4 separate regions of the Homo sapiens genome follow, and all the other regions are linked to region 3. The links are contacts of gene promoters, found by promoter capture Hi-C in blood cells and fetal thymus (Javierre and others, 2016). All regions are on one chromosome and are shown on one strand. The core of a region is centred on a gene start or on the middle of the fragment in contact, and the rest is flanking DNA. Distances in the headings are between cores, read along the strand shown. Region 1 holds the start of LOC100506236 (a long non-coding RNA gene). Region 2 overlaps LOC105375199 (a long non-coding RNA gene). Region 3 holds the start of HOXA5 (homeobox A5). Region 4 overlaps LOC105375199 (a long non-coding RNA gene).

Evidence for each region. The method cuts DNA at HindIII sites, captures the fragments that hold promoters and counts their contacts. A CHiCAGO score of 5 or more calls a contact.
Region 1: a contact is called between a fragment that was not itself captured here and the fragment with the promoter of HOXA5 in region 3, in 1 of 17 cell types (total CD4 T cells). The highest score is 6.4, in total CD4 T cells.
Region 2: a contact is called between a fragment that was not itself captured here and the fragment with the promoter of HOXA5 in region 3, in 1 of 17 cell types (monocytes). The highest score is 5.4, in monocytes.
Region 4: a contact is called between a fragment that was not itself captured here and the fragment with the promoter of HOXA5 in region 3, in 1 of 17 cell types (activated CD4 T cells). The highest score is 6.0, in activated CD4 T cells.

The regions. Positions count from the first base shown.
Region 1 is chr7:25,831,740-25,838,381 of GRCh38, forward strand. LOC100506236 (a long non-coding RNA gene) reads right to left here and starts at 1,345. Exons shown (of 3, transcript XR_108752.5): 1 at 1,171-1,345; 2 at 27-210. The HindIII fragment of the contact is 3,501 bases long and covers 2,325-5,825 here.
Region 2 is chr7:26,076,081-26,082,705 of GRCh38, forward strand. The region is part of intron 1 of LOC105375199 (a long non-coding RNA gene); the gene reads right to left. Among named protein-coding and RNA genes, the nearest start is that of NFE2L3, 73 kb to the right of the region's middle. RefSeq lists an enhancer at 3,067-3,136. The HindIII fragment of the contact is 6,266 bases long and covers 1,310-6,625 here.
Region 3 is chr7:27,138,621-27,144,950 of GRCh38, forward strand. It overlaps HOXA5 (homeobox A5), which reads right to left and starts at 5,061. Exons shown (of 2, transcript NM_019102.4): 1 at 4,426-5,061; 2 at 2,432-3,465. The coding sequence starts at 4,987. The coding sequence ends at 3,215. HOXA3 (homeobox A3) reads right to left here. Exons shown (of 6, transcript NM_153631.3): 2 at 1,463-1,566. HOXA-AS3 (HOXA cluster antisense RNA 3) reads left to right here and starts at 1,744. Exons shown (of 3, transcript NR_038832.1): 1 at 1,744-1,919. RefSeq lists an enhancer at 890-1,468. The HindIII fragment of the contact is 13,335 bases long and covers 3,530-6,330 here.
Region 4 is chr7:25,954,274-25,960,453 of GRCh38, forward strand. All of the region lies in intron 6 of LOC105375199 (a long non-coding RNA gene), which reads right to left. Among named protein-coding and RNA genes, the nearest start is that of MIR148A, 7.4 kb to the left of the region's middle. The HindIII fragment of the contact is 225 bases long and covers 1,485-1,709 here.

The sequences.
Region 1 (6,642 bases), core at 2,825-5,324, 1.3 Mb before region 3:
TAGGAAAGACTTAGGAACTGTCTCACCATCCTGTCTTCTCAGCTGAAATTTCTCTGGGGATGATTAGATGTTGTCTTTGAAAAATCCAAATGGGAGAATGTGTATAAAACTACCCCGTTCTGTGCCTTGAGCACAGTAAGTTTTCAATGGACGTTAATTCCGTTGGAATCCCAGGCTTGAGACTGCAATCCAACGATGCATGTAAAAGACCTTGAGAAAGAAAACAAAAAGGCTCAAGGTCATGACCTCACCAGTCTTTTTGTCTTCCTCTCTATATTGCTCGTGTTTCACAGCCTTCAGCCCCAGTAAACAACATTTTTACCTGGAAGGAGCTTAGAGAGGACTTTAATTTTAGAGGGGCATTTACAAAGATCCTCTGATGCAAGCTCCCTGCTTCCTACTGCTAAAAGTCTGCTTCTTTTCAACAGTGCCCGCCTGGAGCCATGGTTGTGTTTTTGTGTGGTCTCATTCCTGTTTTATGGATTGTTCATGTACCCTGGAATCCCTGGGATACTTCAATTACAAAAATTACCATGTGCTGGGTTCCTTTCGGGTTGACAAGACTGCTTTCCTCTCTCTCTAAGCCGGGTTGTGTTTGTTTACATAGGAAATGTACTCTTTCTTAACATTCACTGTTTCAACATCCACTTAGATAGCTTCATTAAAAAATGGGTTAAAAAATAAAGAAGGGTGGCAAGAAAAGGAAAAAAAATACATCTTTCTATTTCAACCAAAAATTTGGTTCAGAACAAACTTGGAAAATCAGAGGATGTTTTTCTTTTCATCGCTGAAACAATGCTCTGCTTGTTCTCCCCGGGCAATGAGAACTACCCGGGCTTGGATCAGTGGGTCACATTGTGCAAAGTGTTTTTCCTGTTTAAACTATGTGCTTTCTTAAATGTTATCTTTTTGGAAGAAAATTAGATAACCTTATGTCCCCAGACTATATCGTATTTGTTTGAATAGGAAATGCTAATATTTTTCTACATGTTTCGTATCGGTGTCAGTGGAAACTCAGTTTGGTGGTTAAGACAGGCCCCTCTAAGCTCTGGGAATCACATTGGCTATCTTCCAGAAGCCAAGAGGTTCACGGTGATTTTGAATAATCATCTCCATAGCTATGTGAAGTATCTATATTACTTAGCCAGAAGAAAACAAAATTATATTTACCTTTTCTGTATTTAATTAATTTATCTTTAAATATGTCATTTGATGAGATTTTCCTTCTTAATTTCTCTTCTCTTTACCTCCACCTCCTGTGTTACTTCTGCTTTCTACTCAGTCCTACCAATCAACTCCCCAAACTTCCTGCAACCTCTACTTAAAGATCATGCTTAATTAGTCATTATACCCAAGGATCTCTGCCCCATCCATCTGTTTCTGCATTCCCATTGGTCTAAGCCAATGCCTGTTACATCACAGCCCCACCCCTGCCCATGACTAGAGGCTCCCCCTTCCCACATGTCCCCAGTTGTGTTCAGGCCCCTTTATCTGACATTCTTGGAAGCAGAAATAGCAGCAGAAACACATTTCTGAAACAACAGACTCCCCACGCGAACAAGGTCTCTACTAAGACACATCAACCAAGTCCTCTGAAAGCAGCACTGCCCTATCTAAATTTTTTTAAAGTGAAGCTTGTCATTTGCACTTCAATCTCCATTTTTCAGTACCTTCTCTTCAAACACACGTGTTTACGTACTTAATACCATCTTGCTTCCCCATATGAAAATCTGCTCCCAGAAAATCTAGCGTCAGGCATGTATAACTTAATGCAAATTTAAGTTGGTGTGTTCCTTCTCCCAAGGGTACCTCAATTCTAAGCCCTGTATCTAACTAAAGAATGAAGATGTGTCCCCTCTTGATCATGTTTTAGCCGTCGGTGCTCAGATGGGAGAGATGGCACTTTCGACAATAAGACACACTCTTTCATGACTTTATTGTCACAAAAACATACCACGCAAGTGCTTTTCTGCTCCACTAGAACAAGAAAGGCCTCCTAAAAACCCTAAGTGTCTGTTTAAACTCAAAGCTTTAAACCTGAGACCCTTCCACCCTAAATGATAACACTGCTCTCCTGTTGCTCTATAATCAAACCAATAGCCTTAACTCTATATCTGGCAAATACAAGCAAGTAGCAATCATGCCCTCTGTTAAGTAAAGCACAAAAACAACAATGAGCAGAGGTGGGCTCATTGTAAGCCATGAACCTTAAGTCTCGGGGCCCTTCGCTTGCACAGGCCCCTTCCCAAACCCTAGGCAGGGGACCTAGCAATTTTGTATGCGTGATTTTACATTCTTTTTAAAGAAGGCCCCAAAATTGTATAAGCTTCAGGCCACATACAGCTTTTAGATCCACCCTGTTAGGGACTGAATTGTGTTCCCCAAAAATTCCTATGTTGAAGACTTAACTACCAATGTAACTGTATTTGGAAAAATAGGGCCTTCAAAGAGTTAACTGAAGTTAAATGAGGTCATAAGGGTGGAACCCTCATCCAATATGACTGTTATCCTTATAAAAAGAGGAAGAGACACTAGGGCTTCATGCACACAGAGAAAAGCCGCCATCTGCAAGCCGAGGAGTGAGGTCTCAGAAGAAATTAAACCTGTCTACACCTCAATCTCGGACTTCAAGCCTCCCGAACTAGCAGACAATCAATTTCTATTGTTTAAGCCACCCAGTCTGCAGAATTCTCTTATGGCAGAATCCACACCCCTAGAAATTAGATACCATTTTTTAACTTTTCACTATAAAATTTTCTTAATGTTAACATTCAGTTTAACACTGAAGTATAGTGAAATAGGTAATCAAACATACATTGCTGACAGGACATGATTCAACACAACTTTTTGGAAAGCAAATATTAAAAGACATAAAAATACTCGTTTTCATTACCCCAAGAATTCTTCTGGGACTCTATCCTGACCAAATAACTCAAAATATTTTAAAAACTATATACACAAAGAAGTACATTAAAGTATTATTTACAATACTTGCCCATAACTGGAAGCTCCCCCTTCCCATGAATTACAAGTTGTGTGGGCCTTGGGTTTGTGGAGGAATCTGCCAGGGACTTTTAAAGATTCCCAAATTTGACTGTACATCTATATATGAAATTGTGTTGGTTTATTTGCAAAAATGGTTCCAATAATTCTTTCCATTCCTGTCTGCATGCCCCTCTGCCCTGTGATATTTCTGCCCCACCCATCAAGAAATAGAGTCTCTTTTTTCATCCTTTGATCTGGGTTTGGCCATATGACTTGCTTTGGCCTGCAGAATATTAGCAAATATGATGCAAGCAAAAAAGGCTTGAAAAACGCTTGCACATAAATCTTGTTTTCTCTTTCTGCACCTGAAACCATGAGACCTTAAGGCAAATAAGCCCAAGATAGGGCTATGATGCTAGAGAGGAAACATACTGAAAAGCCAAGGCACTGGCCAACAGCCTGCCAACCCAACTATGTGATTGAGTCCATGCTAGACCATCTAGCTCCAGCCGAGTCTGCCCGGGCCAGAACTCTCCCAGCCATCTCAGCCAGCCACAGAATAACGCACTAAATAATAAATGTTTGTGGTTTTAGGCCTCTAAAATGTGGATGGTTTGTTATGCAGCAAAAATTAACTAATACAATAATTTCCCCCTGTAAAATGCTTGTGGGACAAATTGAGAATAGGCAAACTATGTTAATATCTTTATACTGAGTAAGCAGTTGGTGTTCTAGCTGGTGAGCTCCTGAGTTCCAGTCTTGCGACTCACATTCCCCCAATGCTTCAGTAAAATTACTAATTACCACATTCCATGGACCTCTGGATTGCCTGAGAATACCTGAAATCTTGAACGATAAATCTGCATATGCTTATAGTCTGGTTTAGTTTAAAACTGGAAATAGGCAGAAAGCTCTACATTACACACTTCCCTTTCATTAAGCCACTTAAAATTATGGCTATGAAGACAATGTAGAAACATGGGGAATATATTAATGCAATATTAAATGAGAAGAACAAGATAAAACACTGTCCTTAAATTATTATTATAAATATGTAAAGAAAAATAGCTAAATAGTTACAATGAGGAAAAAGACTATAAATAATTGTGCCAAAACACATTAGAAGCTGCTTTAGGATGTTAGATTATGGGTAAGCAGTATTTTATTTTATATATTTGCTGTAATATTACCTTCATAATTAATTATATTCGTAAGTTTAAAAAATTAATATATAATAATTTTAAAAATTAAAACCTGGATATGGGTATAGCCCGTCTGTTTGCTGTATAATTTTTAACCATACAGACTCTCTCTGCTAGTTTAAAACCATAATTTCCCAGAATACGAAATGAAGTTTTTATTTATTTGGATCTTACTAATATTACACTGGAATTTTACATAAATCTGTTTAGAATCAATTTAAACTACTTTAAAGACCAGGACCTGCCCAATTTCACTAAGTTAATAATTATTAAAGCCTCATGGGTGAGGCCTTGTTTGATTCAAATGTAAGCTGAGGGCCGAGGCAAAAATCATGTTGCCACGTTTTTAGGCCATAACTATACTGAAAAATAGCTCTAGACCCAGTTACCTATCTTGGAATGAGCAGATCTTATTCTCCTGAAAAAATGCTGTATACGACCAAAACTTTTGTTAACTAGTATGGATTTATACCCACAGCCAGGAAGGCATTATGAGAGAAAACAATAATAAAATCAGACAGTTTGAGTGCTTTTCTGTGGCTCCCCCTTGGACAATCTCTTTAAAAACAGCAATTCCTTTGACTTTTGACCTCAGCAATCTCCTATTTTTGAGCCAGTCTTCCCCCATCTCACATCCATCATTGTAAAATATGTCAAAATGAGTGAAAACATGGATTTCATCTCCAAGAAGTTTTCTTGTGAAACTTAAACAGAAAAGATTCTAGTCCATACGGGCTCCAGCCTCCCCCAACTATCACCATAGACTTCCCACATCACTGCAGTCAGCTTAACGTAAATTCTTAGGAGAACCATGTCAGTCTCTGTTAATAAACATGGTTCCAGCACACAAATTCAATTGCATTATGAAATCTAATATGTCAAATGGCAAAACCATAACACACAAAGTTCATGTAATCAGAATATTAAACAACTGTCACTCAGTTGTAATACTTTCAATTCCGCAACAGCAAATGGCTCCATTAATAAGTAAAGCAGCAGGATTCAAATGGCTTTCTGCTCTTATCCGCCTGGGGCTCCACCACCACACCAAGGTGGTTTTAGGAGTCAAACTTGATTCCAGGAAAAGATCTGCCCTGAAAAAAAGGGGAAAGAAACTAACCCTATAACATTTCAAGCCAGAAGTGTAACCATTTGCCAATTGCCTTCTTTTACTCGCCAGATACTGTACCTCTGCCCAGTTGAGTGTCAAGTCTTTAAGACTGCAGAGGTGAACTGGAACCCTTCAATATGAGACTTGTTCTGTACACCATGTCCACAGCAGCACTATTCACAATACCCAAAACGTGAAAACAATCCAAGTGGACATAGATCAACAGATGAATGGATAAGCAAAACCTGGCACGTTCATACAATGGAATACTATCCCAGTGAAACATTACTCAGTCTTAAAAAGGAACGAAGTTCTGACTTTTTTGGATCTTACTAATATTGCACTGGAATTTTGCATAAATCTTTTTAAGCCCAATTTAAACCACCTATGAGCCCAAAACAAGTCTAACCTCACTAAATTATAAATTGTTGAAGCATCCTGGATGAGGCTTAATTTGATTCAGATCTAAGCTAAGTGCAGAGCCAAAAATCACATTCCCACCTTTTTAAGTGCAATAACATGGATGAAGCTTGAAGACATTAGGTTAAGAGAAATAAACAAGACACAAAAGGACAATATTGTATGATTCTGCTTATATAAGATACGTAGACTAGGCAAATTCATAAAGACAGAAAGTAGAATAAAGGCTACCAGGGTCTGAGGGTAAGGGGGAATGGAGAGTTTTTATTAATGGGTACAGAGCTCCAGTATGAAATAAAAAATTCTGGAAATTTATAGTGGTGATGGTTGTATAACACTATGAATGTACACTTAAAATGGCTAAAATGGCCACTTTTATGTTATATATATTTTATAATTAAAAATTAGAAAAATAAGGCTTGAAAGATCAAACATTTGGGATAAAAAGAACTGCAACTTAAACTATACTGTGTAGCACACTTCTATCCTTCTGCAATACTTTCTTCATCTTTTCTGTCTTCATTAGCAGAACCTCTTGAAGACTCCACATAGTATCTCTTATTTTGCAAATAAGAAGACTAAGACTTGTAATAAATTGTTCAAGTGTACCCCCAGATTGGCACTAGAATGTGGATGCCCTGGTTTCCATCCTTTTAGCCAATGACCTGTATCCCCTAACTTCAAGGTTATGAGACACTTACCTTATGCTATAAAGAAAGAATATGTGTTCCTAATTTAAATTTTATTTCTCTGCTTTCCATGTAGCCAAAGTCCACAGAGTGAAGGCACCCTGCCATGCACATATCAAATGCTCAGTAAGCAATTTTTCATCATCATTAAAAGCAATTTATTACTCACATATCTGTTACCAAGAAAGACAGTAATCATCTAGAGAGAGACATAAAAACAACCAGATGGAGATTC
Region 2 (6,625 bases), core at 3,193-5,692, 1.1 Mb before region 3:
TGATGTTTTGACAGGACAGCTTTACTGGAGGGGTCATGTTCCTCCACCAGAAGTGCCATGTCTCCTTTCATGATGTTATTGGCCATTATGATCAATGGGCTCTGATAATATAATATAAGCTGTTAGAAGAAAACCATTGAACCAAAACATTCAGAAGGTTTTGTTTAAAAAAAAAACACACTAAAATCCTTTTTCTCTGTGGTAGGCACTGTGTTTTCCTGCACATAGCACCTCATTTAATCATTCTAACACCCTCATGAGGTGCTGATGGGAGCAGATTTGAACCCAGCCAGTGAGCCTCCAAAGCTCATTCTCTTAGCTACCACAGAAGCAGATCGCCTTGAGAGTCTTATCTTATGGGCCGGCTGCAAAGGAGAAGCCCCTTTTGACTTAGGTAGCATGAATAACTGAAAGAGGTAGAAGTGAAGCAGTAACCAAAAAAATGGTTGAATCTTAAAACACAAGGTATACATTCCTATAAGACTGATCAAAACACCAAGTGGGCCAGACACGGTGGCTCATGCTTGTAATCCCAGCACTTTGGGAGGCCGAGGCAGGTGGATCACCTGTGGTCAGGAGTTGGAGACCAGCTTGGCCAACACAGCTTAACCCCGTCTCCACTAAAAATACAAAAATTAGCTGGGTGTGGTGGCAGGTGCCTGTAGTCCCAGCTACTTAGGAGGCTGAGGCAGAAGAATTGCTTGAACCTGGAAGGCAAAGGTTGCAGTGAGCCAAGATAATACCACTCCAGCCTGGGCAACAGAGAGAGATTCCGTTTCAAAAAGTGACTGTTTATTAACTGGCGAACGCAATCATCTGAAGGGCGTGTCATCTGACAGAGGAGGCAAGTTGGACTGCAGTCACAGTGTCATCTTGGTACAGGCATGGAAACAGAGGCTGAGGAGGTCCCAGACAACCTTCATCAAATAGGGCTGAAATAGCACTCCGAATGTCACCAAAGTGAGTAGAAGCCATGATGCTCTGTTTAAAGTTTGCTCTGCCCTTTGCTCAAATCAACTTAGAGTTATGTTACCCACTCTTGGTGGGAAGGGTTGCCAAAATTAGAGTCATTTCATTAATCTCCCAGGCCAGGGAGAGGTGGTTATATATCACTCCAGGTTACGTTGGCAGCAGGATAATCATTGCATTTCCGTAGTGCATAAAGCAGTATTTCTTTCCATTCATTTGCTATCAGAGTCTCTATAAAAACACCTTAGAACTAAAATATGTTTCTCGGTCCTTTAGATTTTAACAAGACTTCCTTCAAGACGAATATTTTTGAAAAATTCCAAAGTATGAAAAGTATGGAAGCTTCATTTCAAAGGACATCTCTAAACAAATTTTTTAAATTAATATTTTTACAAAATGATTGTCTCATTCCTAACAGGGGAAGGCACCTTGTGATTAAAAGGAAGAAGAAGAGAGGGAAAGGGAGAAGGAAAGATGGAACACAGGAAGAAGAAAGGAAGGAAGGGAAGGAAGGAGGAAGGGAGGGAAGGAGGGAGAGAGGGAAAAAATGGCTTAAAATATTTAGAATGTATTTAGAATATTTTTATTACAGTATTTAGGGAATTTAAATGTGTCAAAAACAAAATAAAACTGAGAGAAACCAAAATTAAGTATGTAGGTAGAAAGTGATGTTTTGTCACTAAATGTATTTTTGAAAATAAAATCGGGGGCCGGGCACGATGGCTCAGTGCTGTAATCCCAGCCCTTTGAGAGGCCGAGGCAGGCAGATCACTGGAGCCCAAGAGTTTGAGACCAGCCTGGACAACAGGGTAAAACCTCGTCTCTACAAAAAATACAAAGAAAATTAGCCGGGCGTAGTGGTGCATGCCTGTAATCCCAGCTACTTGGGAGGCTGTGGCATGAGGATTGCTTGAGCCTGGGAGGCAGAGGTTGCAGTGAACTGAGATAGCACCACTGCATTCCAGCCTGGGTGACAGAGTGAGACTCTGTCTCAGAAAAGGAAAGAAAAGAGCCAAGCAAATTTAAAATTTCTTCTTCCTAGATCTTTCTCTCTCAGTTCACTGTAAATCACTGTGTATTTGTTTAGGATTCTAAATAGACCATAGGTAATTTATAAGTTCTCATGGAATCTTCTGAACTTTTTTAATGGTGTTTACCAACAAGAAACTGTGTCATATAGTAGAGATTTCTGTAAGCTGTCCTCTGAAACAGTATTCCTTCCCAATTACTTTTTAAAACAATGTGAAATCCATTATGTTTGATACAAAAAAAAAATTCTAAAAAATTGAGTGAGGTATTAAAAAAAAAAAAAAGATCTATGGCCAGGAGCAGTGGCTCACACCTATAGTTCTAACACCAGGAGGCTGAGGTGGGAGGATCCATCGTGATCAGGAGTTCAAGACCAGCCTGGGCAACATAGGCAGACCCTCCCCACCTCCCCCACATCTCAACTAAAAAAAAAAGTAGCCGGGCATGGTGGCACACACACCTGCAGTCCTAGTTACTTGGGAGGCTATGGTGGGAGGCTTGCTGGAGCCAGGGAGTTCCAGGCTGCAGTGATCTGTGATCTCACCATTGCACTCCAGCCAGGGCAACAGAGCAAGATCCTGTCTCAAAAAAAAAATTAAAATTTTCTTAAAAACTAGCAACAAGATCTAGAAGTGAATGTACTGTAAAATAAAAATCAGAGTAAGGGAATAAAGTCAAGAGACTTGCGCTATCATCATTTTACAGCTGTTACTGGCAGGAATAAATTGTTTACATTGCCCAGTTCCACATCTTTGATTCTTCCAGCTCACATAACTCATTATTTTACAAGGTGTTTCTGTAACAACTCACTAAACAGTAGTCCTTGCAAACAGTTCTGCTGCTCTGTAATCCAAGATTTTGGATAACATAATTTTAACATAAACATAATTTCAATAAAACTAAAGAGCTCTTTACTGTGCACTGAACAAACTACTCAGGCAGTAGAGGTCTCGCCAACAATGCAACAGACAAAGCAAAGCCGGGATGGCTCAGGCAGGGGGCGCGCGGATCACTCACTGCAGACAAAGGGAGAAGGACCCGACGCGCCCACACCGCCCGCGCATGCCCTGTGCCCGCGGGATCAGGTGTAGCGGGGTAACAGTTGAAAGCGCACAGACAGCTGGAGTTAGCTGGAGTAGCCCTGCTACTCAAGCTGTGTGGTTTGGGGCAAGTTGAGTAATCCTTCTTAGCCTCGGTTTTCCCATCTGCCGCATGAAGAAAATGCCACCTTGCAGAGTTACTGTGAGGACTAAAGAGATAACCCACATACATCTTCTTAGTTCTGCTGTCGATGCTCAATAATAAATGGTATCTGTTATTACCATATGCCATCCCAGCTCCCATCATCATCCCCAATAGGCAAGGGACATCACCACAGTGACACAGCTGTGCTTAGACCAAGGATGCAGAGAATTAAATGGAAATAAATTGAAATAATACCCATCCCTCTTTAGATGCTCTTCTAGAATTTGGGCTGTCTGGAAGTGGGCTACTGTAAGTGGGTTATCCACTCATGTGCCTAATCCTGCCTGTGTATTCAAGGCTCCCTTCCTCTGTTCAGGCAAGAATAGAAATTGGAATCTGTGAGTAGTAAGTGAAGACGAGTCTAGAAAAAGCAGCATGGGGTGAATGGAGCCACCACACTGTTCAGTGGCAGAAAGTCTGAATAGACAGCTCCAAGCTCAGAACCATCCACAATTTCATTATTAGGCTTAACATTCTGTGTTAATCAATCCATCCTAAAACCCCCACCTCTGAGGCAGACACAGAGGCCAAATATAACACAACCCACATACCATCCAATTCAGGATGTTGTTCAAATATTGATGAGTTTCAAACCCTCTAACAATATAAAGTATTATAAGCCACATCTAAAAACCAAACTTGACCTTGGAGGGAGAAAACAGCCAAAGACAGATATGTATTATATAAATTTCCTTTCTGAAGCTACAGGGAAATGTCAAATCATCACAGTTTATTTATTTTACTTTTTTTCTTCCCCAAAAAAGGAAAAGGAAAATTCTGGAATTTAAAAAATCAAAGAGAATAAAAATACAACAGTACATTCTATTGTTCTCCAGGTCCAAAAGTACATGCATATACTTAGCTGGCGAAAGAAAGAAAGGAAGGAAGGAAGGAAAGGAGGGAAAGAAAAGAAAAGAAAAGAAAAGAGACTTTGACAAAGAAAGGCATTTCCCTGGGAATATTCTACCTCTGGGAGGACAGTGGTCAGGCATTTCTTCTATCTTGCTATTCCTTGAGCACAGTCCTGCCAAATATCCTCCTTTCACCATTTGCAGTTACCATGAGAAAACCACAGAGAAAGCTCTGGACAGCCATGGAGTCTTAGCTGGATCTACAATAAAAGGAGTCAGGTACCCTCCCACCTTCCCAGAAAGACTGTGCTGGGGCTCAGAAAACAACACCCCAAAATGAAGCCCTCAGCAGCAGCCTCAGAAGCAAATGATTTTCTCTGACCTTCTCTTGCCCTCCTGTCTCTCAGTCCCATTCTCCTCGGAGGCTAGCCATAGAAACCAGAAGCCTTTTCCAAAGCCAGCCATAAAACCTAAAAATATTAGTTTAACTTTCCCTCCACCCTATCTGTATAAAAACTGGCCATATGGGCTGGGCACGGTGGCTCATGCCTGTGATCCCAGCACTTTGGGAGGCCAAGGCGGGAGGATCACTTGAGGTCAGGAGTTCAAGACCAGCCTGGCCAACATGGTGAAACCCCATCTCTACTAAAAATACAAAAATTAGCCAGGCGTTGTGCCTCACGCCTGTAGTCCCAGCTACTGAAGAGGTTGAGGCAGAAGAATTGCTTCAACCCGGGAGGCGGAGGTTGCAGTGAGCTGAGATCGTACCACTGCACTCCAGGCCGGGCAATAGAGCAAGGCTCTGTTTCAAATAAATAAATAATAAAAATTAAAACTGGCCATAAATAAATAATCTGACCTACCCTGTTTGATAGTAGGTCATAAGACCCCCATTCCAGAGAGGGTCCTGCCCCACACCCAGAAGGAAGAAATGTGCGCTCAGAGAGGCCAGGGAGAATCTAGACAGGCAGCTCTTGCTGGGCTTCCCCACTCATTCTATTAGACTTAGATCTATGCTTTTCCTCCAATCATATTCCCATATGGCTGTCCATATTTTGTTGAACCTAAGCATAAAAATGGACAATTTCCCCTGTATCTTTGAGTCTTCATGCTGAAGGCTCCTGTGAATGCACGTTAAATAAGCGTATATGCCTTTTCTCCAATTAATCAACCTGCCTCATCTCAGTGATTTTCAGCAAACCTTTACAGGACCAAGAGCCTTGGCCCCCACAACTATGACATGGGATAAAAGTAAACTTCTACATGCAGATGAATTTGGTAGGCTCAGAAACATATACATAATTAACACAAGATTAAGTGTCCGTAATGGATATTTGGGGAGGGGGCAGAGGGAAAACAATCATAAGACACAGGAAAGCTCAGGGATATAAAACAGCTCAGGGAACACGTGCCCCTTTGAGAAGGCAACTTTCTGCTTCTCTGCTGTGTCCGGGAGTTCAGAGTCTCAACCACATACAGTTCTTAAGGACCACCTGATACAACTGAAAAGACCTTGGAGCTGATGCAACCTCTTCCCACGGGGTGCCTGCCACAGAGATGAGTGCCTGGAGTGGCTGTCACCTCCAGGGAACTCTGAGTGGGCCAAGGAAGGAAGTCATCCCCTCCTCCATTCAACTCATTAATCACAGCTGTTAGGTAAAGAGCCCCTAGGGGTTCCCACAGTATAGCAATAGCCTTTCCCTACCTACAGCCAAGCCTAGTCCAAAGGTCTTGGAGGCCCTGGGGCTCTTGGTCAGGGCCAGCCTCCCAGGCTCTGTTCAGTATGACTGTAAGAGTGATAAGAATCTCTCTGCGCAAAAGTTCCTTCTTCCACACCCCCCAAATGCACAACACCCATCTTCCCAGGCTAAATGCTCCAGAGTTCTATCTTTGAATTGCCCTGTCCAGAAACCTCCTTTAAAATGCAAATACACATAATAGAGATTTTGAAAAAGCACTTTAGCTTATACCAGTTCTCTAAGGAGATAGGAGGCTGGGGGAAGAGGCAGGAAGGAAAACTGCCTAGGAAGGGGCAGTCTAAGTAGGGGTCCAGGAGAGGCGCTGAGCAACCCAGGAGAGCAGGCTGACTCTGAGGTTGAAGGGGGGATTCAGTGGAAAGTGATTTCTTTAAAAAGGAACATCCAGCGTGAGACTTAGACCCTGGCTAACGTCCAGAAGGATCTAGAATAGGATGGGGAGTCCTCTTACAGTGATCATTTCATTCTCGCATAATTTGTCCTATTTTCAATGATCTAGATCAGGGCTTGGCAATCTATGGCCTGCAGCCAAGTCTGGTCCAGCATCTGTTTTGTACCTATAAGCTAAAAATGGTTTTTACCTTTTTAAATGATGGGAAATCAAAAGAAAAATAATATTTCATGACAAAAAAATTATGTGAAATTCACATCTTACTGCCCATAAGCAAAGTTTTATTGGAACAGAGTCATGCCCATTCTTTTACATGTTGTCTATAGTTGCCTTCTGCTGTAAGATATTTCCACAAAGCCTAAAATATTTACTGCCTGGCCCTT
Region 3 (6,330 bases), core at 3,811-6,310:
AGTCCCCAGTCACTGGGCTTGGGTTTTGCCATTGAAGAATATGGGGGGTTGGGGCCAGAAGGGGTGACTGGGGCCAATATGGAATTGTGCCCAGGATAAACTTATTTCACCTTACTTCACCCATTGGTGCAATTTTGGAGACTGTTCTGGAAATCATAGATTATGTAAATTTCCTGGGATCAAACAGAAAGAGCAACTAACAAAAGAAAGGCGGAAATCTCCTACTGACAAAGGACCAATTTCTTCCCTAAACTACCGTTTATGATGTGTCAGGAAAAACAACCTAATGGCTCTGGGGACTTTTAAGTTGGGCACTGAAGACACCTCAATTTCCCCCAAAACTTTAGAGCACAGTTTGGAACAGAGAATTCGCCTGTATGTTGAGGGGGAGTGAATTTCTCCAATCTTAATGTTATCCAGGGGGCCGCCTAAGTTGCCTTCTGAGGGTCCTGTGCGTAGATGTTTTTAATTCTACAAAGAAGGAGAGGAACAGGAAAGAAGAGAGGGAGAAGAAAGGCAAAGCGGAAGAAAAGAAAGCGCTTTAACCCCTTTCAATTAGCCTGGGGATTCAAAGACTAAAGTTAAATCCGGCCATAAAGTTTATTGCTTCAGACTCACAAGCGGCTGAGAACAGTCCCGCCGAAATAAAAAGAACATGCAGGCAAACAGGGTTCAGGGCCTGGTCCCGGGTGCGGGGGAGGGGGTCCTGAACACCCCCCCACACCAGGGTGGGGATCCTTGGTCCTCAGGGTCCAGTGGGCGCTAGCAGCCCAGGATCCACCTTGCAACCCGGGGGCCCAGCCTGGAGGTGCAGCCCCAGCCTCGCCGGCCTCTGCCACCCTCCCGCTCTCGCGAGCTAGCCTGAAACCCGGCCCCGAAGGCCGCCGCCTCAATTCAGCCCTGCCAAATGACCCCGGCCCGCGAAGACATATTGCCACAGCCCCGTAAGGAATCCCGCCAGAGTCCGCCTCGGCCCTGCCCCGGCCTTTCTTTCAAACTCCTGAGCGCAGCGCGGCCCTCGGCGCCCGCGGCCGGCGCCCCACTGTCTCCCAGCCCCGACCCCAGGGCTCCGCGACCCCCAGGAGCTGGCCCCGGCCGGCCCAGCAATTGCGCGGGGGACTGGGGGTGCGGCCCTGCCAGGTCCCCACACACAGGCCCATTCGCACACAAAAATCATCTTTTTGCACGCCGGCGGGAGCAGCGGAAGTCATTAACATCCGCGGTTGTGCTGCAATTAAAGTTAGGCCTGGGGATGCGGCGCGGCCACAGGCGCTGCTCACTCTGCTGCCTCCGCAGAGTTGGCTCCTGGCGCTGCTCTTTTGGGCAGAGGGAAAGTTTGCTCTGCCTTTTCGAATTCAGAGGCAGCCTGAGTTATTGAACCAGAGAGAGAGAGAGAGAGAGAGAGAGAGAGAAAGTTTCCAAAGTACAAATAAACTTGAAAGCGCTCAGGAGGCGAGCTTACCTTAACTCGGAGGGAGCCATTTTTCAGAGAGTTTTGAGAACTTGTGGTTTGGACACTTCTGGACCTAAAATTGACAGTTTGAATGGCCAGGCGGCACACGTAGCCTGCAAAAGAGTCAAATGGAGTCCAGCGTTAGTGAGATTATATGTTATGTGGTATATAATGTTGGATGTCAACTCCCCAAAACCATAAAACTTACTTTAATGGCCCCACGTGACGTTTTATAGCCAGTGAGCCGATCTGTCTGTGCTATGGATGATTTTACGATCTAATTCATAGACAAAACCCTATTCATTTGGCACCCAAATGTCATATAGCCGGAACTGGGGCTTATAAAGTTTACTGTTTTATAACTTTTAAAAGGAAAGACGGCATCAGTGTAAGCAGTCGGTAAATGTGCAAATCTCTAGTTGCGCTTTAGCTGCTCTGAGGAGTTTCCCAATCGAGCTAGGATGGGGTAAGTACCTTCAATTTGTAGCAAATTAATTGTAGCAAAAGAAGCCAACTGGGTCCCGGGTGAAGAGTGGGGAAGGGGTGCTGGGATGGGTTAAGGGCAGAGGGTTTGGGGTCCACAGACAGACATAGCAGCGTCTTCAGCAAGTGGAGGCCTAGGACAGCCTTAGGAAAGAGGCAGGATCTGTGTGGCCTGAGGGCGGCTAACAAAGCCCTGGGTTTTTTCTCCTTTTTTCTTGCTCTTTCTCTCTTTTTTGTACCCAGCAAGTTAACTTGGTTTCCTCAGAGATGGACAGGGTGTTCTGGGGCTTTGGAACAGCCTACAGCTTTTTCCACCTTCTGCCCTGAACTTTGCAATGGGTCAGAGGTAGGGAAGCGATGGGACAGTGTTGGTATGAGGTCTCCCTGCACAGGTCATCTGCTCAGGTAGCCTCAGACCCAACAGCTTCCAAGACTGCACAGACAGACAGAAAAGCAGACAGAGCCGCTCACTATTTGGCACAAACCAGACCAAGAGAACTTACAATAGAAAGTTTATTTTTTGTTCCAGTCAGTATTTTTTCCTTAAAAACAAATACAAAAAAAAAAAAAAAAAAAAAAAAGCTGATCACAGTTTGCTTAAAACAGCCAGACTTGGACAATATTTGTAACTTTGTTCACAAAAACATACATCACTGAAGCTGCGCTTATAAGAGCCACTTCCAGAGTTCGTGCAAAGGGTCCTATAAAGGCACGCAGGGACACACCGCTTGGAGTCACAGTTTTCATCACAGAGTCACTAGTCACTACACGTCGAACAAGTTGTGTCTCATCAAGTCACCTCTACAACAGCATTAATTACACAAGGAATATAGGTAGTTTGAATAAAAATATCTTTAACAGCTTGGAGCTATTGAGACAGGAACACTTCCACGCACATGCACAGTTAAACAACTTGAGTGCAACACACAACATTGGCACTAAACGAGATTGAAGGGGGACTTTTTGTGTGTTTTTTTTTCTCTTTTCTTTTTTTGTTATAGTTACTTCAAGTAACACAGCTTGCTTCATATAAATAAGTTAAAACATCTATTTTTTTTCAAGACAAAGCCATTCAGGACAAAGAGATGAACAGAAAGCAGATCTACTTATACAGGCGCTATAATGGCAATAAACAGGCTCATGATTAAAAGATGAATTAGGGCAACGAGAACAGGGCTTCTTCACAGAAGGAACACAAGGGAGTTTCAGAAAGTCACCTTAGTACTGACACTACGCGGGATCCGCTAATACTGCTCAGTACTTTAAACGCTCAGATACTCAGGGACGGAAGGCCCCTCCTGCCGCGGCCATGCTCATGCTTTTCAGCTTATTATCTTTTTTCCACTTCATTCTCCGGTTTTGGAACCAGATTTTAATTTGTCTCTCGGAGAGGCAAAGAGCATGTGCTATTTCAATCCTCCTTCTGCGGGTCAGGTAACGGTTGAAGTGGAACTCCTTCTCCAGCTCCAGGGTCTGGTAGCGCGTGTAGGCCGTCCGGGCCCTTTTGCCTTCCGGGCCGCCTATGTTGTCTGCAATAGAAAAGTCAGCGGTTTAGCCACCAACTCCTGTCTTCCAAAGTCCGCCAGGGGGACAAGCTTGGGTCATGAGCAGGGAACCCAGGCGAAAAGCTCAACAAGTTCTGCCTACCAGCCCGCACACCCCTCCCGAATTTCCTTCTCTCTTCCTTTCTAGAAAGAAAACAATACGATTTGGACCCTGGGAACAATCTGCCCATCTGAGGCTGGGGCCGTGTCCCGGCGGACTCCGGCTTTCCCTGGCCCCTCTCCTGCCCCCTCCGCCCTGCCCCGGGCGCCCCGATCGGGAGGCACAGCCCTCCCAGGCTGCCCACCGCACAGAAACCCAGGAAGCAAGGCCCTTTCCTGAGCGCCCAAGTGGCCTTCGGGTCACCCTCCCTCAAAGTTCCAGCCCCGAGAGCCGCCTCCCGTTTCCAGCCTGCAGGGTTGGGGAGCCTGTTTTCTTTTTCTTCCCTTTCCTTCTCTCTCCCTCCTGCCCCCAAAATTCAGAATCCTGCAGGCTCTCGCCTCGATTCTTTCCCCCAAGCCCCTTTTCGGGGGCTGTAATTAGTAACGCTGTTTCCCCAGCGTAGCCCTCCTCATAAATTATCCGCCGTGACAAGCCCGATTCACGGCTGCTACAGCCATCCTCTACCTCTCTGCGCCTTGCTCGGCTGGCCTGACCCGGGAGCGCGTCCCAAGGCGTGGGGTTCCAGAGGGGTTTTTTGCTTCCTCCCCCTTCCAACGTCTAAACTGTCCCAGAGAACGCCCATTTCCCCCACTATTTGTGAGCGCAGGGTGCTCGCAAAGAAGAGGAGGAAGGAGGAAGGCAGGGGAGGGAGAACGGCAAGGAGAGCTCCGCAGGGCTGGGAGAAATGAGACCAAGAGAGACTGGGAGAGGGCGGCAGAGAAGAGAGGGGGGACCGAGAGCCGCGTCCCCGCGGTCGCGTGGATTTAGAAAAAGGCTGGCTTTACCATGACTTATGTGCAGCTTGCGCATCCAGGGGTAGATCTGGGGTTGGGCGGGCGGCGCCGGGCTCGGCTCGCTCTGCGCACTCGCCTGCTCGCTGCTGGCAGGGGCGTCCTCCTCGGCTCCGGACGCCGTGCCAACCCCCTCTCTGCTGCTGATGTGGGTGCTGCCGGCGTCGGCCGAGGCGCCGCTGGAGTTGCTTAGGGAGTTTTTCCCGCCGTGGTGGCTGTCGCTGCCGGGCGAGGGGGCCACGGCGGAGCAGGGCAGCGGATCGGGCTGAGGAGAGTGCGTGGACGTGGCCGGCTGGCTGTACCTGGGCTCGGCGGGCGCCGCGCTGGCGCTGGCAGCGTAGCTGCGGGCGCGCTCTCCGGAGCCAAAGTGGCCGGAGCCCGAGCGGCCGACGCTGAGATCCATGCCATTGTAGCCGTAGCCGTACCTGCCGGAGTGCATGCTCGCCGAGTCCCTGAATTGCTCGCTCACGGAACTATGATCTCCATAATTATGCAACTGGTAGTCCGGGCCATTTGGATAGCGACCGCAAAATGAGTTTACAAAATAAGAGCTCATTTGTTTTTTGATATGTGTGCTTGATTTGTGGCTCGCGGTCGTTTGTGCGTCTATAGCACCCTTGCACAATTTATGATGAATTATGGAAATGACTGGGACATGTACTTGGTTCCCTCCTACGTAGGCACCCAAATATGGGGTACGACTTCGAATCACGTGCTTTTGTTGTCCAGTCGTAAATCCTGCCTGATGACCTCTAGAGGTAAACTCGTGCACTAATAGGGGAGTTGGGTGGAGGCGAGGGGGGTGGCGCGCGCGCCCCGGGCGCGTGCCCGCCGCCAGTTGCCGCCGTTCAGCCGGACTCGAGCGCCACCCGCTGGAGGCAGGGCTCATCGCCCAGCTTCCGACCGGGGGCTGCAAGGGCCGGGGTCGAATTGAGGTTACAGCCCATTATGGCAAAATTATTGCATTTCCCTCGCAGTTCCATTAGGATGTACCAATTGTTAGGCCGTCAGCTGCCGATCGCGCGCCCGGCGAGGATGCAGAGGATTGGGGGGAGGTGGTGACTTGCATTTTATTTACAACAACTTTATTTCCCCCGTTTTGCAGCCCCTCTTATTTTTGTGTCGAGGTTGGGGTCGGTACTGACCGTCCTGCCAGCAGCTCTGAATTTTGAAAATACAGATATCACCTTCGGGGAAGGGGGAAAGCCATTTAGCCAATTGGAGAAATAAATCCTGCCCGCAGCAGCAGCAGCTACAATTACGGCTCTGTTTTTGCGAGCGCATGAGGGACAGTGTCCCTGCCGCTCTTAAATGACAGGCGTCTATTAAAGATAGCTTTTGTGTAGTGTTTCTCCAAGGCGAGGTCAAATTCCATACACTTTTATAACCGTAGTCGATTTTTCTTTCGTGTGAATATGGTTTTCGTGTCATTAGTTTGCGATTTGATTTGCTTACGTATCCAGCCTGGAAAATCTTCATCACAGGGTCCGGTTCCTCGAGCCAGCCGGGCCCCAAGTCGGAGGGTTCTCCTTGAACCCAGCGAGTGGGCCCAGGCTCCCTGCAGCCACAGAGGCTGCCTGGGGTCTGGGGATCCGTGGGGCGGGTTACTGGGGTCTTGCTTAGACCTCCAGGAGTAAAATGAGGGCGATAATGGAAGCATTCCTTGGCAGTGCCTAGTATCTCTGTAGTTATTTTCCACGGCTCCGAAAGACTCAAGTAAATCACAAATATAGCTGAGAGGCAAGTGGAGTCTCCCCGCTGGAGGCCCGGCGTTGCAGGCGCCCCTGGCACGTCTGGAAGCCAGGACTCTGGCGGCTCCCATGGCCCTGGGCCCCTCGTTGGGTCCTGAACGCTGCTGTGGCGGCGACGCGGGCGCTATCGGAGGCTGGGAGCGGGAAT
Region 4 (6,180 bases), core at 347-2,846, 1.2 Mb before region 3:
ATTCTGTTTCCTTACCTCTTTTAGAGGCCTCTTGTGTTCCTTGGCTTTTGGCCCCTTCCTCTGTCTTAAAAGCACAGCACTCCATTCCCTGCTTTTGTCATCACATCTTCTCTCTGACTCTCATCCTCCTGCCTGCTTCTTTTAAAGATCCTTATGATTACATTGGGCCCACCTAGATAATCCAAGATAATCTCCCCTTCTCAAAAGTCTTAATCACATCTGTAAACTTCCTTTTGACATGTAAGGTAACACAGTCACACATTCCAGGGATTGGAATGTGGATATTTTGGGGCCATTGTTCTGTCTACCATGTTGGGCTAAAGTCAAGGTGTCAGCAGGGGTGCATTCCTTTCTGGAGTACCAAAAGGAGAAATCCATTTTTTGGTTTTTCAGTTTCTAAAGGTTTCCCGCATTCCTTGGCTCTGGCCTCCTCCTCCACCTTCAAAGCCAGCAAAGGCTGGTTGAATCATTCTCACATCGCATCACTCTCATGCCGCCTCTTGTGTCTCCCTCTTCCTTTCTGATTGCGTTGGGCCTACCTGGGTAATCTAGGATATTCTTGCTATTTCAGGATCAGCCAATTACCAACCTTAATTTTGTCTGCTATCTTAATTCTCCTTTGCCATGTAACATAACGCATTCACAGGTTCCTGGGATTAGTATGTGGACATTTCAGGGAGGCTGTCATTCTGCCTGCCACACTGCCTATCACTGATGGTGATAATCTACATCATAGGGTTGTGCAGAAGATTAAAGCATCCACACATGAAGAGTGTTTACAAAATGCCTAGCATTTTGTAAGAAGCACTCCATAATAACTAGCACAGAGTAAGCATTTCATAATAATGATCCGTTATAGTTATTATCTAGAAAGGAAATACAAAACAGAGAATAGTTGCATCTGAAGGTGGGATTAAAACTGATTTTTATTTTCCTCATTTTGCTAATTTTTTTTCTTTTTCTACCATGAACGTGTATTATTACTTGGGTACTTTAAAAATTTTAAATATAAATGAGAAAAAACCATTAAAGGAGGTTGTCACATAGGAGAATAATTTAATTTGGGGTTAGAAGGCCCAGGTGCTCACCTCAGCAATGGTACAAACACAAATTGTGATACTGGGCGAGTTACTTTACCTCCGTGCACTTCAGTTTTCCTCCTCAGTAACATGAGAGAGATGAACTATGTATTTCAAATGGTCCTTCCAGTTCTAAATGCTCTGCACCTAACATGTTAAAAATCAACAGATTGATAAATGGATTTTAAAAACCCATGCTGCTTAGTACATAAAGAATCCCAGCTGCTTTGCCTATGGAGTAGCCATTTTTTTATTCCTTTACTTTCTTAATAAACTTGCTTTCACTTAAAAAAAAAAAAAAGAACTCCACAAAATCAGTAAGAAAAAAGACAGCGCTATAGAAAAAAAAGAGTGGAAAAGGCATAAACAAGCATTGCACAGAAAAAGAAAAGCAAATGGCAAATAAGCTTAGGTAAAGATGTTAAGCCTCATTAGAAACAAGGAAATGTAATTTAAGACTTCAGTGAGATATCATTTTATACCCACTAGGTTGGCAAAAATTCACAAGCCTGACAACATCAATAGATGGAGATGATGTAAATCAGTGGCATTTGGGGTCTTTTCACACAACGGATTATTATACAGCACTGAAAATGAATGAACTACAGCTCCTCACAAAGCTATGGATGAAGCTTGGAAACATAATGTTGAGCAAAAAAAAAAGAAGATGGAAAAAAGCAAGTCCCAGGAGACTAAGATATAACGATGCCATTTTTATAAAGCTCAAACACAGCCAAACAATATAATTTTAAGAAATTTATAAAGTGATAAAAAGCAAGAAAATGATAAATAGAAAATTCGGGTTAGTGGTTGCTGGTAGGACGTGGAGGGAAGGAGGGTGAGAAGGCAGCCCAAAGGTGGATGCAATTGGCAATGTTCCTGTTCTTAAATTGGACATAACACTTAGGCTAGTAAGTGTTCAGTATATTATGTTTTGTGATTTGCATATGTGAGAGATATATATATTTTATATGTACCAAATATTAGATTTAAATTTTTTTTTAAGAATTCTGTTTAGGGGCTTCTGTATTCTAATCTAAGATGCTTTACTTCTTGGAGTTGAGGCTAATCACTAAGTTTCCCTTCAAACTCATAAAAGCCAACTCTTTATTGGCAATTTGCTATTTGTAATCCCTCTAGTTAAACAGACTTCATAACAGCCACCCACATCTGGGCTTGTGCAAAAAATGTTTTCAGTTTATGCTCCAAATGAGCCTCATTTTCTCTGAGAACTACACTGCACTCCCAGAGTTGGGGGGTATACCAGCAGGAGCAGTACCTCCAAAAGTCTCTTGGAGCGTGCCCTCTGTGTGCCTCCGGAGCCCTTCCTTCATCTTGCCTGCAGCTAGCCATTTGGGCAGCTTCTGCAGCTAGGGCTGAGCTATACAGTTCATAAATATCCCACTTAGCCCATGTGAAATTGTCTCTACTCTGATTGATTACAGTTTTGATTTTAATGCTGAAAAATCACATTCTGTGTGCTCCTGACTTGTCTTCTGTTGTTTTATAAGGTTTGTCCATCTGGCCAAGACATCATCTAGAGTGGCTTGGTCTCACAGTCCTGCAACAATCTGGCATTAGTGTTATTTTTGACTTTGATTCCATCTTTGATTCCATAGTCTCCCAAAGAATAAGCCAGTTTTGTTTGATGTAGTTTTCTACTTCCTTGACTCTAAACGCAGCATTTGGAAGTAATTATCAGAACTCACAGGTACTTTAAATATCATTGTTTCCACTGAAAGGACTGGCTTACATAGGGTTCACCAAATGAAGCGGATGCTTAGCACATGGAGGAGGGATGAAGGTGGTCTTAGGGCAGCAGTAATATTTGGCACCCAAACATTGCCGCTTACATCCACCTTTGGATGTTGGATGCTACAGACACACATCAGTTGGGTTGAGTACCTTTTTTGGTTTTTTTTTTTTTTTGGCTTTTTTTTTTTTTTTTTTTTTTTTGAGAAAGAGTTCCACTCTCGTCCCCCAGGCTGGAGTGCAGTGGCACGATCTCGGCTCACTGCAACCCCCACCTCCCAGGATTAAGCGATTCTCCTGCCTCGGCCTCCTGAGTAGCTGGGATTACAGGTGCCTGCCACCATGCCTGGCTAATTTTTTGTATTTTTAGTAGAGACGGGGTTTCACCATGTTGGCCAGGCTGGTCTCGAACTCCTGACCTCAGGTGATCTCCCCGTTTCGGCCTCCCAAAGTACTGGGATTACAGATGTGAGCCACCGCACCTGGCCTGGAGTACCATTTTTTAAGACCTGCTACCTAAGGTGGAATGGCCCCCAGTCCTGTACACTTTGTGTGAGGTCTTCAGCTTTGGAGACATAGATTAAAAAAAAAAAAAAACTTTTTGTCATGAAAAATTGCCAAAAATATACCGAAGGATAAAGAATGCAGTATAAATATATCCCACAAAAATAGATATAAAAATTACAGGAAAAGTATAAAGAAATCTGTCACCCACCACCAGTTTCAATAATTATTAACTCAGGACCATTTGTGTTTCATTTGTACTTCCCCCATGCTCCCCAGGATTATTTTGAAGCAAATCCTCAATATCATGGGGTGTAAATGTTGTGAATGGATCTTCATGACAAGTATTCTCAAAGCTCCAGATAGGATATTAGGAATGGCAACACTGAGTAGGAGGCCTCTCTTTGCAACATTATTACATGCTATTCATTCTAATTAATTAAATAAATGAGAAGACCAAAGTTCTTTGCAGTTGAGACTCGCTTTAACTTCCCAGTAGAAGGTTTTCTTGGATAAACTTAACATATGGAAAATTACTGCAGGACTTTATAGTTGGGAAGAAGGGGAGCAATAGAACAATTTAACTTTTTAAAAGTTTATAATTCCTCAGTCTCACCATCAATGAAATATTGAGAGAGTCCATGAAATAACATCAGTCTATTACAGTAGTCTTAACTGGTCTCTATGATCCATCCTACATAAATTGCTAGCATTATTTTCCTCTAGCTCACCTTTGCCCATTGTTTTAATAAATGTGAGTGCCTATTATGTACAAAGCATCGTACTAAGCCCTGGAGATAATTAAAAGATGAATCAGATATGGAGATGTGGCTCCTATTCTGTTTTTGTTTTTGTTTTTTAAGACAGGGTCTTGCTCTGTCACCCAGGCTGGAGTGCAGTGGTACAGTCTCAGCTCACTGCAACCTCTGCCTCCCAGGTTCAAGTGATTCTCCTGCCTCAACCTCCCTAGTAGCTGGGATTACAGGCACATTCCACCACGCCAAGTTAATTATTATATTTTTAGTAGAGACAGGGTTTTGCCACGTTGGTCAGGCTGGTCTCGAACCCCTGACCTCAAGTGATCTGCCCGCCTCACCCTCCCAAAGTACTGGGATTACAGGTGTGAGCCATGGCACCCAGCCTCCTATTCTGTAATAAAGAATTTGGTCTTTGCCTGGGCTCCTGGGATCTTCTAAAGCCTTAGAATTTTCTGAGAGATAGGAGTGCCTTGGTTATTCATGGTGGGTCCCGAGCCCCACCTGAGTTATGATAAGGAGATGACCTAGGATGGGGCTAGTCATGATGGAAAAACCGACTATGTGATGAAGCTTTAAGCCAGGAGATATCCATGATATTCAAATAAGGTTTATAAACTTGAGGTAAAGCCCAGCATAGTAGATCAAATATGAAGGAAGAGAAAGAGAAACAAGAAAATTGGATAAACTTTATCCAATAGTTGACAGTAGAATAGTGTTTCATAAAGGATTATTTCTTAGTGGGAGAGAAAGGGTTATTCTTTAGCCTTCTTCTACCAAGAAGTCAGGAAATTTTAAAAATTTGGGTAGGTGTCATGTTAGAGATGATGCCATCCATCAAAGGAAGAAGACAATCTGATGTTAATGTCACTCCTAAGGCAAGAGACCTGTCCACATCTCCCCAGGCCCACATAAACCCTCTCACTGAGCTCATAGCTGGTTCCACGGAGAGTTAAGAGTCAAAGCTGAACCCCCAAGGGAGGCCATCATCTGTGCAGCTTAGCCAAAAGAAGGGAACTACTGCCCCAGACAGCCTAAGTCAAGAATGTAGCACGTTGACCAGCCACCCTCAAACTTCCAGAGAGGAGTCTACACGTGTAAGAATCACAGCTCAAGGAGACTGAGAATCTACAGTAGATTGAAGCCTAACTCAAAATCCTGCCCAGTGAGCTTGTCTTTAGTCAGTGTGTTTGTTTAGTTTAACTGAACGGGAGATTGTAAAAGACTGTTCCTGAAAGCAGCTTAGACCTATTTGTTTGTGGACTCTCCTGAAACGGACCTACTAATGGGAAAATATTTTCCTAAAGATTCTTTTCCAAATAGAGTGCTTTAAACTAAATATTCAAAAGAGATCATTGTTTCCAAGCTAGAGGAAGTAAAGGAGCTGGGTTAGAGATGTAAATCATATGGCTTTCAGTTTGCACACAAAAGGTGCTTGCTTCGAAGTCTGAAGGTAAGAATAAATTAAGTGCAAAACTTTCCACCTACATGAAAAAAATATTCATCAACTGGCATTACTTGTATCTTAATTTACAAATAACTGGGGAATTCTGTTACAAATTCCAAGCTGTTTAATTTTTCTAACATCATATTCAGAAAAACTATAGCTTCTAACCTTTAAACTTAATAATCAATATTCATTTTACCCTCTAGATGCTGATCTTATAGATGGAATCTATAGTGTAGTTTACTAATACTCTGTTAAAAATGTACAAATGGGCCAGGCATGGTGGTTCATGCCTGTAATCCCAGCACTTTGGGAGGCTGAGGCAGGCGGATCACTTGATGTCGGGAGTTCAAGACTAGCCTGGCCAACATGGTGAAACCCTGTCTGTACTAAAAATACAAAAAGTTAGCCAGGAGTGATAGCGTGTGCTTGTAATCCCAGCTATTCAGGAGGCTGAGGCAGGAGAATCACGTGAACCTCAGAGGTGGAGGCTGCAGTGAGCCAAGATCATGCTACTACACTCCAGCCTAGGTGACAGAGCGAGACTCTCAAAAAAAAAAAAAAAAAAAAATTACAAGCCCCCTTGACAGCACCTTTTGAAGATAAGTCTACCAATACCAGCCCCCTCTAGCAAACCACACAA